Regions from separate parts of the Homo sapiens genome. Here all the other regions are linked to region 1. Evidence: promoter capture Hi-C in human tissues and cell types (Jung and others, 2019). All regions are on one chromosome and are shown on one strand. The core of a region is centred on a gene start or on the middle of the fragment in contact, and the rest is flanking DNA. Distances in the headings are between cores, read along the strand shown. Region 1 holds the start of TST (thiosulfate sulfurtransferase). Region 2 holds the start of LGALS2 (galectin 2). Region 3 holds the start of FOXRED2 (FAD dependent oxidoreductase domain containing 2).

Region 1 (4,044 bases), core at 646-3,145:
CCAAGTGTCTGGCATGAAATGGCAGCTGCTGTTACAACTCTGCCGACGGGCTGCAGCTGCCTGGAAAGGTTATGGAACCTTTGCAAACAGCAGGCAGGGGCCCCAGGAGAGCTAGATTTGGGGAGAGGGGGATCCTGCGGGGAGGGACACTGTTGATGTCTATAAGGGTTTCTGCGGGACGAGAGAGGCCTGGAGAAGCTGGATGTGTCCGTGGGAGGTTTCTGTACAGCAATGCAAACGCTGGCTCAGGGGCATGACACCCTTAGGTATATCCTAGTACATGTGGGGCAGCTGGTGCCTGGGAGTGGAGGTGGTGGACATGTCACCAGTGACTTCTGCTCACACAGATGCTAGGTGGCTTCTTAGCACATGGCTATGAGGACACATTCTTGGGTCCTTGTGCATCCAAGCTGAAAAAGCCTTTAGGTTTGTCTCCACTTTCTGGTTTTATCGATGGAAAGACTGAGGCCTACATGGGAGGATTGAAGGCATGGGACGGACCCTGGAGAGGGTCCCAGTCATCCTTACTCCCTATCCTTCCATGGGGCAATACTCCCCAGGGACCACCCAGCACTGGGACACCTACCTACTGCATCCGGCTCCGGCTCGGTGCCCAGGAACCGCCCTTGAGACCTTGAATCCACCAGCTGGAACCTCTTAGATTCAAGGTTCTCCAGCACCTGCTCGTAGGTCTTGAGCAGGGAGCGGTCCAGTGTGGCTTTGAAGACGGCCGGTTCTGGGCGTGAGGGCTCGGATGTCACCGGGTGGCCCTCCTTCAGCCAGTTCCGGAAGCCACCATTGAGCACTGATACGGTGCGGTGGCCAAACACACGGAACATCCACCAGACCCGGGGAGCATAGAAGCTGCCCAGGTGTTCACCATCATACACCACCACGTGCGTGTGGTTGCTGATGCCCAGGCGGCCCACATACTCGGCGAAGCCAGCCTCGCTGGGCAGCATCATCTCGTAGGGCGACGCCGTGTCCCGGCACTCTTCTATGTCAAAGAAAGAGGCGCCGGGTACGTGGCGCTCGAGGTACTCCTTGCGGGCCTCTCGGGTGCCTGGTGAGTACCAGGACGCGTCCAGCACCCGCAGGCCGGGCCCCAGCTTGCCAGTCCTGATGGACTCCGCCAGCCACTTGGTGGAGACCAGCGCCCGGTAGAGCACCTGATGAACCATGGCTTCAGCTCTGCGTGTCACCTGGCACGGGTGGGAACCAGGAAAGAGAGACAGGCGTGAGGAAGGAAGTCGGTGTGTGCAGTAGGGTGAGGCCTGGGAGAAGCTCTTTCTCCCTCCGCACTCCCCCGGGTTCCTTGTTTACAGCAAGCCAGCGAGGCTGGGGCGTGCAGCGGGATAAGTTTGCAGATTCCCTCTGGAAAGCCGGCCCCGCCCCTCCCAGCCGGCCCGGGGGCCCAGCGCAGAAGCGGGTGGGGCAAGAGTTTCCGAGGACTCCAAGTAGGGGCGCTTCCTGGGGCGGGGATCTGGCTCCTAGAAGTTACAGTACTCGATCCCGCCAGGAAAGAGCAATGAAAGCATGCCCGGGATGGGGGGCGATGGCATCTTGGGCTTAGAATCCCCTTTCCTTCCAAGGCAGAGGGGGTGGGCGCACGGCTAGGAAGCTCCGCGAGCCGCGCACACGCCATCGCCTGCGGCCTCCCCAGGCAGCCCGAGCTCGCCCGCCTCCAGAGTGCCCGAGTCCGGCCCGTAGCTCGCTGCCCTCTGCCCTAGGTGGATCAGGGGTTCCCGGGGCACCCCGTCCCACTCTCGCAACGCTATCCTTCCCCGGGCAGCAGGTGGCCCGACCGGCGGCCCAGGCGCCCGGCCGCTGCCCCCGCCCCGCACTCACTCGCCCCGGACGCCGCGCTGGCGCTCGCCCCGGCCGGCTGGAGAAGTTGGCCGGTTCAAACCCCCGGCCGCAGCTCCCCAGGCGGCGCGCACCATCGCGCCACCGCCAGAGGGGGACCCTGCGCCGCCCGCCGCCATCCCGCGCCTCCCCCGCGCGGCCGCTTCGCGCCCGGCACCTGCCAACCTCGCGCGCGGGGCCTCCGGGACCCGCGGGGGTCTGAGGGGGACGCCGGGTGGCGCGGGGGCCGCGCGGGCCTGGGCTGGGCGGAGCGGGCGTACCCCCACGGCCCGGCCAGTGGAAGGCGCGGGCAGCAGCGGCTCCGAGTGGCCGCGGCGGTGGGCTGTGCCGGAGTCTCCTCCCTTTGGTCCGCTGCAGGTTGGTGGCGGGAGGAGGGGACAGCTGCGGGCGCGGGGAGGGGGCGCCGCGCCGCGGGGGCCATGGCGGAGCCAGGAAGCCGGGAGTCCGAGACCCGGGTAACTGCCGCGGCGTGGCGGCTTGCCTTTCTGGAGGGGGAGGGAGTGGCTCTTTGGGGGTGCTCGGCGCGGGGCTCCCGCGCGGGACCTGGGCGGAAGAGGGGGCTTAGTCTAGGAGAGAAGGCGCGCCGCTACGTTGGCACTAAGGGTGACTGTCCGCTTGGGGCGGCCTGCCGGGTGGGGTCGTGGCGAGTGGCGGGTGGGGAGCCTTGGGTGGAAGTGGGTGACCTGGTGGCACCAGAGAGGGCGGGGGAGAGAGAGGAGGACAGGGAGACGAGACCCCGCTGACCCAGAGGCCCCAGGAAGAGACACTAGCCAATAACTTGTTAGTGAGTGAAAGGAACTAACATTGTCCAGCCCTGCTTGGTGTGGCACTTTGCTGGGTACTCCCGTGGTGTGACTTAATTCCCACAATAACCCTGAGGAGTAGGCCAGAAACTTACTAAGACAGGAGAGAGCGGCAGAGCGAGTTGCTGGAGGACACACCCAGAGTTGAGGCCGGGCCTGATCCCTGGTCTGAAGCCCACGTGGTACCAGCTGCCTTTGTTTACCTGGCTCTTCCCTGAAGGTTCATGCTTTTTAAAAAATTGCCTGTTTTGAACTTAGCCCGTTTAATCATAAGTTGATGTAATTCAATTTTTAATAATAGCTGTATTTAACAACCAGTTGGCAAAATTCCTGAAAAGCTCGCCATGGGCTCTTGCAAACTGGGGGACACCATTGCCCCTCCCTAGCTTTTGCAGAGGCCAGCCTGGAAGCTTTCCCTGTTTCCCAACCCTGACCTTTTGTTTTGTTTTGTTTTTTGAGACAGGCTGTGGTTCTGTGGCCCAGACTGGAGTGCAGTGGCGCCATCTCAGCTCACTGCAACCTCCGCCTCCCAGGCTCAAGCGATCCTCCCACCTTAGCCTCCCAAGTAGGTGGGACCACAGGCATGTGCCACCATTCCCGGCTAATTTTTAAATTTTTGGTAGAGATGGGGTTTCACCATGTTGTCCAGGCTGGTCTTGAACTCCTGGGCTCAAGTGATCTGCCCATCTCAGCCTCCCAAAGTGCTGAGATTACAGGCATGAGCCACCATCCCTGGCCTCATCCCTCTTTTTAAAAAAAGGTTTTGTTCTAAAATGCTCACAGCAATCCTCAAAGCCTAGTGTCTGGTGGTTGGGGGAGGGGGTGGGCAGGAGGGACCAGGCTGGGGAGGTCCAAGAGGAGCTCCCAAGCTCTGCTCCTCAAGGGGTACCCTGGATCCAGCCTGCGGCTCACGCTTGCTTCAGTGCAGCTGTGTATCCTTCTGACATGAGCCTGGGGCGGTTACGTCCTGGGGTCCTCCACTCCCAGGGCACCCTCACCTACAGTGATCCCGGCTTCTGAATCACACAGGCACCTGGTTTCTACCCCTCCCTGACACCCACAGCCTGCCTTCACACCCTCCTTTATGGCCCACAGACCTTTGTGAGAAGTGCCAATCAAGCAGGGAGACTGGGGCAGGGTGACCTCAGATCTCTGAAGTCCCACCAAGCCCTGAAATTCTAAGATTTTAGATTTGCTGCTGGCAGTTCCAGGGCCACCAATGAGAGTAATGGAAGAAATAATGCAATATTATTATTATTATTATTATTTTGAGATGGAGTCTCACTCTGTTGCCCAGGCTGGAGTGCAGTGGCGCGATCTCGGCTCACTGTAACCTCTGCCTCCCAGGTTCAAGCGATTCTCCTGCCTCAGCCTC
Region 2 (4,044 bases), core at 836-3,335, 560 kb after region 1:
CTATCGTGTGAAGCCACCCACAATTTGGTGGTAATTTGTTATTGCAGCCCTAGGCAATGAATACACCATCTAATCCTCAGAAGAGGCAGCCTGTGATCCCCTTCCACAGATGTAAGGAAGACTGGGGCTCAGAGACGGTCAGTGACTTGGCCAAGGCCACACAGTAAAGCTGTGGCAGAGTCTGGTGTAGAATCAACGAATCAGAGACCTCAGTGGGAATCCACTCAACCCCTTGTGATTTGCAGCTTGTGGCCTTGGGCAATTTGCTCTCCAAGACTTGGGTTTTGTGTGTGGGTATATGAGACAAGGTCTCACTCTGTTGCCCAGGCTGGAGTACAGTAGTGCAATTACGGCTCACTGTAGCCTCGACCTCCTGGGCTCAAGTGATCCTCAGCCTCCCAAGGCTGAGGAGTGTGCCGCTACCCCCACTAATTTTTTAAGGCAAAGCGTAGTGGCATGCACCTGTAGCAGAAAAGGTCTCACTATATTGCCCAAGCTGAGATTTTTTTTTATCTCTATAAAGATCAATGGAGGCCAGGCACAGTGGCTCACACCTGTAATCTCAGCACTTCGAGAGGCCAAGGCAGGAGGATCCCTTGAACCCAGGAGTTTGATATCAGCCTGAGCAACATAGTGAGACCTCATCTCTACGAAAAATAAGAAATAAGCTGGGTGGGGTGGCTCACACCTGTAATCCCAGCACTTTGGGAGGCCAAGGTGGGCGGATCACCTGAGGTCAGGAGTTCGAGATCAGCCTGACCAACATGGTGAAACCCTGTCTCTACTTTAAAAATACAAAAATTAGGCCAGGAGCAGTGGCTCACACCTGTAATCCCAGCACTTTGGGAGGCCAAGGCAGGTGGATCACCTGAGATCAGGAGTTCAAGACCAGCCTGACCAACATGGAGAAACCCCATCTCTACTAAAAATACAAAATTAATCGGGTGTGGTGGCCCATGCCTGTAATCCCTGCTACTCAGGAGGCTGAGGCAGGAGAATCGCTTGAACCTGGGAGGTGGAAGTTGTGGTGAGCCGAGATCGTGCCATTGCACTCCAGCCTGGGCAACAGAAACTCCATCTCAACAAAAAAAAAAAAATTAGCCAGGTGTGGTGACACATACCTGTAATCCCAGCTACTTGGGAGGCTGAGACCAGAGAATTGCTTGAACCCAGGCAGCAGAGGTTGCAGTGAGCTGAGATCGGGCCACTGCACTCCAGCCTGGGCAACAGAGCGAGACTCCATCTCAAAAAAAAAAAAAAAAAGAGAAAGAAAAGAAACAAACAAAATTAGCCAGTGTGGTAGTGAGTGCCTGGGGTCCCAGCTACTCAAGAGGCTGAGGTGGGAGGATCATTTAAGCCAAGGAGGTCAAGTCCGTAGTGAGTTATGATTGCCACCACTGCACTCCACCTGGTGACAGAGCAAGATGCTGTATTGTTGTTGTTGTTTTGAGATGGAGTCTCACTCTTGTTGCCCAGGCTGGAGTGCAATGGCACAATCTCGGCTCACCATAACCTCTGCCTCCCAGGTCCAAGTGATTCTCCTGCCTCAGCCTCCCCATTAGCTGGGATTACAGGCATGTGCCACCAGGCCTAGCCAATTTTGTATTTTTTTAGTAGAGACGGGGTTTCTCCATGTTGGTCAGGCTGGTCTCAAACTCCCAACCTCAGATGATCCACCAGCCTCGGCCTCCCAAAGTGCTGGGATTACAAGCAGGAGCCACCACGCCTGGCCCAAGATGCTGTTTTTTAAAAAAAGACCTCTGTCCAACTTCTTTGCTGCACAGATGGGGAAACTGAGGCCCAGAGAGGGACAGCAATGGTTTTCCCTAAAAGCCCCCACCCAGGCAAAGACAAAGATGAACAGAGTGGGGCAGGCAGCAGGGGGCTAGTGTCCTCACCGTCATGGTGACAGCTCCTGGCGGCAGCTCCCAGCGGCTCCTGGAGGCCTGTGCTCAGGGTCTCAACTCGTGGTCAAGCTTATATCCTAGAATATTACACATTAACTCCCTCAAGGTCCTAGGTGAGGACTTTGCCCCTTCTACCTTGTGTCTCCCCGCCTGCATCTCCCAGTACCCAGCACAAACAGGCAGAAGACTCCTCAGCCAGCTCCACCCCACCCAGCCCGGAGCATCCTCCTGGCCTCCCTCCAGCCCAGCCTCCCCCTCCTCAGCGCTCCCAGAGCCCGAGAGGGGAAGCAGCCCCAGCTCTGCCCCCACACAAACCGCAATGCAGCCGCTTGACAGCTCTCCCAGCCTCCCTCACTTAGCCCAGCTTCCTTGCCTGTAAAAAGAGAGATTTGCTTTGCAAAAAAAAAAAAAAGTCTAGGTTTCTAATTTTCTTTTTTTTTTTTTTTTGAGACAGAGTCTCACTCTGTCACCCAGGCTGGAGTGCAGTGGCAACGATCTCCGCTCAATGCAATCTCCTGGGTTCACACCATTCTGCTGCCTCAGCCTCCCGAGTAGCTGGAACTACAGGCACCCGCCACCATGCCCGGCTAATTTTTTGGTATTTTTAGTAGAGACGAGGTTTCACCGTATTAGCCAGGATGGTCTCGATCTCCTGACCTCGTGATCTGCCCACCTTGGCCTCCCAAAGTGCTGGGATTACAGGCGTGAGCCATTGCGCCTGGCCTAAGGTTCTAATTTTCTATGATGTTATGATTCATTGTCAGAGAGCATTATGTTTTCTTCTTCCCTCCCCATATTATTTATCTGATCGGACATGTAGGTTTCAAAACCAATACACGGATTCAAAGAAAAGATTTCAAACTATTTACAACAAATGGTCAAAAGCAGAGGAGAGCTGGGCGCGGTTGCTTAAGCCTGTAATCCCAGCACTTTGGGAGGCCAAGGCAGGCGGATCACCTGAAGTCAGGAGTTTGTGACCAGCCCGGCCAACATGGTGAAACCCCATCTCTACTAAAAATACAAAAATTAGCTGGGCGTGGTCGCACCTGTAGTCACAGCTGCTCAAGAGGCTGAGGCAGGAGAATCGCTTGAACCCGGGAGGTGGAGGTTACAGGGAGCTAAGATCGCGCCACTACACTCCAGCCTGGGCGACAGAGTGAGGCTCCGTCTCAAATAAAAAAATAAAAAATAAATAAAAGTGCAGAAGGAGTGGGAGGGCTGAGTGGGGGACATGGAGGATGAAAATGCTTTGCTCTTGACTTCTGTTACTTATGTAACTGGCATGCTTACTATAGACAATTAGAGATATTAAATAAAAAGAAAAATAATCACTCATAATGCCACCGCCACGAGGGAACTGGCTTACGCTGTTGGCACATTTCCTTCCAGGCGGTTCTCCACAGATTTACATTATAGACACCCCTCTGTCTGTGCAATTGTTTATCTCTCTTCATTTGGGAAACATTAAAGACCACAAATCTATATTTCAGAACCATACTTTAATGCCTGCGAAATAGTCTACCTTTCAACGACTGAATTTATTTAACCAATTTCCTTCTGCTGAACACTCACATTAATTCTACATTTTTGCTATTAAAAATACTGCTGCATTAAATCTATTTGGACATAAACTTTGGCTGCATCGTGACAACTTATGTAGGGCAGATTCCCAGAAGGAGAACTTTTCTAGAGCTCAGGATTTGGCGAGCCAGAGCGTTTTCCATCAGAGTTGGCGGTGGCCACTCCGGGCAGGATGTGGGGAACTGGCCTTGCCGAGGGCCCTCGGTGCCAGGAGTCTGCAGGTGGCTCACTGCCCAGTGCCCACATAGGACACCACCTTCAGTCCCCTGCCAGCCCGGAGTGAGGAGTGACTTCCTCCTTTCACCCACAAGGAAATTAATCCTCTCTCGGCCTTTCTCCCAAAGGCATGGTAAAACCCCAGTGAGATAAGGAATTTTAAAAGGCTTTCTCCCTGGAAACTAATCAACAGAAACTATACCTTTTAAAGGTGGCATTTTTCTGATTATAATAATAATATTATCTCACTATAGGAGGTTCCAGAAAGTACACACAGTAAAAGGAACTTAAAGTTCACTTGTTTTAAAATAATGTTCAAAAGCAGGGGAAAATGACCATG
Region 3 (4,044 bases), core at 391-2,890, 510 kb before region 1:
TCCAGGGGAGGGCAGCTGGGGACTTGGATCCTGCCGGCTTGCAGAAGAATGCTTTGATCACAGAGTGGTTTCAAAAATAGAATTGAAGGCCGGGTGCGGTGGCTCATACCTGTAATCCCAGCATTTGGGGAGGCTGAGGTGGGTGGATCTCCTGAGGTCAGGAGTTCGAGACCAGCCTGGCCAACGTCGTGAAATCTCATCTCCACCAAAAATATAAAAAAATTAGCCGGGTGTGGTGGTGCTTGCCTGTAATCCCAGCTACTGGGGAGGCTGAGGCAGGAGAATCGCTTGAACTAGAGAGGCGGAGGTTGCAGTGAGCTGACCTCGTGCCATTGCACTCCAGCCTGGGCGACAGAGTGAGACTCCGTCTTAAAAAAAAAAAAAAGCGAAATACCCTTTTTCGTCCATTCCTCCCATACCTACTGGCCAATCAAGGTGTGTGGTTCGTGTGGGGAAGGTCCCAGCTTCCGCAGGTGAGCTCTGGCACCGGCCTTACCTGCACTGATGCACCTGGCCCTTCTGGTCAGTTAGGATGAAGTAGTGGCCATTCCAGGCCTGTCGGTCCTTGTCCAGAGTGACGTGGGCGATGGTGGTGTTGTACTGGACACGGAGCCCCAGCGTGTCCGCGAAGTCACCCAGGTAGCGCACCATGTCGCGGGCGTCGGGGAAGTAGGCACGCGAGTAGTGTCTGAAGAGCAGCCGGGGGTCGTGGCTGAGCAGAGAGTTCCAGTCGTGGCGGAGGTTGAACTCGGCGTTAGCCTTGCCCGTGTACCGCTTGTTGATGCTGATGAGCTTGCGGTGCCGCGGGTAGCGTGTGAAGAAGCTGCCGGGCCGCGGGGCCCGCTCGAACACTGCGTAGTCGCGTCCAGCGCGCTGCAGGAAGTAGGCCATCTGCAGGCCCGCGGGCCCAGCGCCCAGCACGCAGTAGTCCCGGCGCGGGGGCACCGACAGCGCTGGGTGCAGGGCGATGGCCAGGAGCAGCCCCGGGGGACCCCACAACGGGGCCGCAGCGGAGAGGCCCATCCTGCAGCAGATCAGAGGGGTAAGGCCTCGCACCCGGCCCGGCGGCTGGGAGACACGAGGCCCAGAAAGAGGCGGGGCCTGCGGGAACTCTCACTGCAATCTGGGTCACGGCCAGGCCCAGAAGCCGTCCTCAGAGCTCATTTGCCCGGACTCCACCGTTTCAAGCTGGGACTTGGGGCTCCCCGGAATCCCGAGCCCCTCCATCTTATCTCCCTCAGGGTCTCCTTCCTCAGGGGCACCGGCTCCCCGCTTATGATTGTAGTAACCTCCACCCTGGGGAAGGAGAGCGTACTCCCCAATTTTCCCCTAATTTGAGGGTGCCCAACACCCCTTTGAACCACCCTCCAGGTTGGACCTTCCAGAGGCCTTGGCCCCTCTCCAGCGACCGGGTGGGAGCCTGAAGTGGGTGTGGCCTGCGTGCGCCCCGCCCCCTGCCAGGGTCCGCGCGCCCCAGGCTCTTCGGCCACGTGACAGGGATGCCGCGCACACCTGCCGCCCGCCCGCGTGCGCTTCAGGAGCCGCCAGGTCCCTACGCCCGCAGCTCCGGCCTCCCCGCCTCCGACCGAACCCTGAGAAACGCGCGAACCTCCCAGCCGCTCCGGCTGCAACCCGTGGTCTAATGAGGCCGCGCTTGGCTCGCTTGCTCCGCGGCGGCTCCGCCCCTCGCGCCCGGACCAATGGCAGGGGGCGGGGTCACGTGCGCGGCGCGCGGCACGCCGGGACCAGCTGGCAGGCTGCCTGCTCCGGCCCAGCGCGGGAGAGGCGCGCGCGTGCTGCGTTCGCTGCTCCGGGGGCTGGTAGAGGGGCCTGGGGCTAGCGCGCACCCGCGAGGGTGGAAGGTCTGGAGATCCGGGATGGGGAACTGGGTCCTTCGTTTTAAAAGGTGCCTCTCTACACGGAGGGAGGGGAGCACGTGATTTTTGGAGCTAATCCTAGCTCTCATATTCCATGAATGTAGCCAAACGCTAAAACTAGTTGGCCTACCCAGTTTTGTGGGACTGGAAACCAGCGTGGTGGAGCCAGGACCGATAAGCCAATTAACAAGCGTTTGCTACAGTGACTCAGTGTACTGCTTACCAAGTAACATACACGACTGTCCTAATCTTCCACCAAATAGGAGAGGTGGGCAAGGCATTGTTTCCGACATTTGGTAGCTGACTGGTCAAATGGAGACATAGGGATGAAGGGATATGTTTACAATCACAGGAAGTGGAGCCTGGAATTAAAACTCAGTGGAGGCAAGATAAATGGCAGGAGGAAGATAACGTGAACTGGATGATGAAGGTTGGCTTCCCAGGGGTGGCAAGTGGCCCCTGCATGAGATTTACATGGGGAGAAATACGAAGTCAGTGTAGGAACCTTCAAAGTCCAGTGAAATGGGGCTGAGTGTTCTTGGGGGAAGGGCAGGTGGAAAGAACTGCGAGCCTGCAGATTTGCATGGCTGGAGATTCTTTGAATTAAAAATCGTAGCTGGGGACTCCTTAGAAAAATTTTCCTGACCTCTCAGGCCTACAAGTACCTACCAAAGAATGTCATTTACTTTTTCTTTTTTTTTTTTTTTTGAGATGGAGTCTCACTCTGTCGCCCAGGCTGGAGTGCAGTGGCGTGATCTCGGCTCACTGCAAGCTCCACCTCCCAGGTTCACGCCATTTTTCTGCCCCAGCCTCCCTAGTAGCTGGGACTACAGGTGCCCGCCACCACACCCGGCTAATTTTTTGTATTTTTAGTAGAGACAGGGTTTCACTGTGTTAGCCAGGATGGTCTCGATCTCCTGACCTCGTGATCCGCCCGCCTCGGCCTCCCAAAGTGCTGGGATTACAGGCGTGAGCCACCGCGCCTGGCCGAATGTCATTTACTTTCTTCAGTCTGTGTCAACATCAGAGAAAAGCTCCCTCAGAGCAGAAATTGTCCAGTATCTGACATACGGAAGTTTAAGCATTTGTTGAATAAGCATTGCAACCAGAGAGGTCAGGCAGAATACTTTGCCAAAAATAAAGTAGGGATGTCTTATTTCTTCTTTTTGAGACAGAGTCTCACTGTCACCCAGGCTGGAGTGCAGTGACACAATCATGGCTCACTGCAGCCCTGACCTTCCAGGCTCAAGCGATCCTGCTTCAGCCTCCCAAAGTGCTAGGGATTACAAGTGTGTGCCATGGCCCCTGGCCAATTTTTCAAAAAAATTTTTGGGGGCATATGTGTATATATTTATGGGGCATATGAGATGTTTTGATAGTCATGCAATTTGGGGATGTCTGTTTCTTAGTGGTTGTGAAGATTATGAGAATGGGTGCTGGCAAACAAGTTCCTAAAATAATTGCTGGTCTTATGTGGTGAATACAGTAGTGGGAAATTAAACAGAATTCGTCAAGTATGGTAGGGCCCTACGAGTAGGCTGAACCTAGATTGTAAGCAACAGGATGCTACTGGGAGTTTCTGAATGTAGGATTACTGCAGCAGTCAACTTGGTAGCCCCATGCAGGACAGATAAAAGCAGTGGACAGCTACTCGGGAGGCTGAGGCAGGAGAATGGCGTGAACCCAGGAGGCGGAGCTTACAGTGCCTGAGATTGCGCCACTGCACTCCAGCCTGGGCAACAGAGCAAGACTCCGTCTCAAAAAAAAAAAAAAAAAAAAAAAAGGCAGTGGAAACTGATGCAAAGTATTTTCAGGGAATGAGCTTGAGTCACTTCCACTTGCTTCTGTTAATCCTGTTGGACAGGGCCATGGTTTGCAAGAGGCAATTTGGTGAATACTGGTCCAACCTGGAAACCCCCGGCACTAGTCACACCACTTTAATCTGTTTTTTAACACTCTGTATTCACATTGAAAACTCCCCAAGTACACTTTTTCTCTCCACTGCTTCTAACACAGTTCAAGAAACCTTTTGCTTGCTGAGGTTCGATTCATTAAAATTAATTTTGTGTTTTTTCAAGCTACTTTAAAAAAAAAACCTGTAACTTTAGAAATGCTGAGCTTTTTTTGAGAGTCTCTGTAATCCAAATTGGAGTGCAGTGGTGTGATC

Evidence for each region. The method cuts DNA at HindIII sites, captures the fragments that hold promoters and counts their contacts. A contact is called where the count stands out against the background at its distance.
Region 2: a contact is called between the fragment with the promoter of LGALS2 here and the fragment with the promoter of TST in region 1, in 2 of the 25 tissues and cell types used here (lymphoblastoid cells and spleen).
Region 3: the fragment with the promoter of FOXRED2 here is called in contact with the fragment with the promoter of TST in region 1 in 1 of the 25 tissues and cell types used here (dorsolateral prefrontal cortex).

The regions. Positions count from the first base shown.
Region 1 is chr22:37,017,552-37,021,595 of GRCh38, forward strand. It overlaps TST (thiosulfate sulfurtransferase), which reads right to left and starts at 1,896. Exons shown (of 3, transcript NM_003312.6): 1 at 1,849-1,896; 2 at 587-1,202. The coding sequence starts at 1,181. MPST (mercaptopyruvate sulfurtransferase) reads left to right here and starts at 2,191. Exons shown (of 3, transcript NM_021126.8): 1 at 2,191-2,321. The coding sequence starts at 2,286. RefSeq lists enhancers at 439-1,414, 1,443-1,944 and silencers at 1,418-1,477, 1,638-2,027, 2,058-2,177, 2,188-2,507. The HindIII fragment of the contact is 8,246 bases long and covers 1-4,044 here.
Region 2 is chr22:37,578,002-37,582,045 of GRCh38, forward strand. LGALS2 (galectin 2) reads right to left here and starts at 2,086. Exons shown (of 4, transcript NM_006498.3): 1 at 1,899-2,086. The coding sequence starts at 1,904. RefSeq lists a silencer at 2,413-2,472. The HindIII fragment of the contact is 22,309 bases long and covers 1-4,044 here.
Region 3 is chr22:36,505,400-36,509,443 of GRCh38, forward strand. FOXRED2 (FAD dependent oxidoreductase domain containing 2) reads right to left here and starts at 1,641. Exons shown (of 9, transcript NM_001102371.2): 1 at 1,610-1,641; 2 at 497-1,024. The coding sequence starts at 1,023. RefSeq lists a silencer at 1,388-1,887. The HindIII fragment of the contact is 18,149 bases long and covers 1-4,044 here.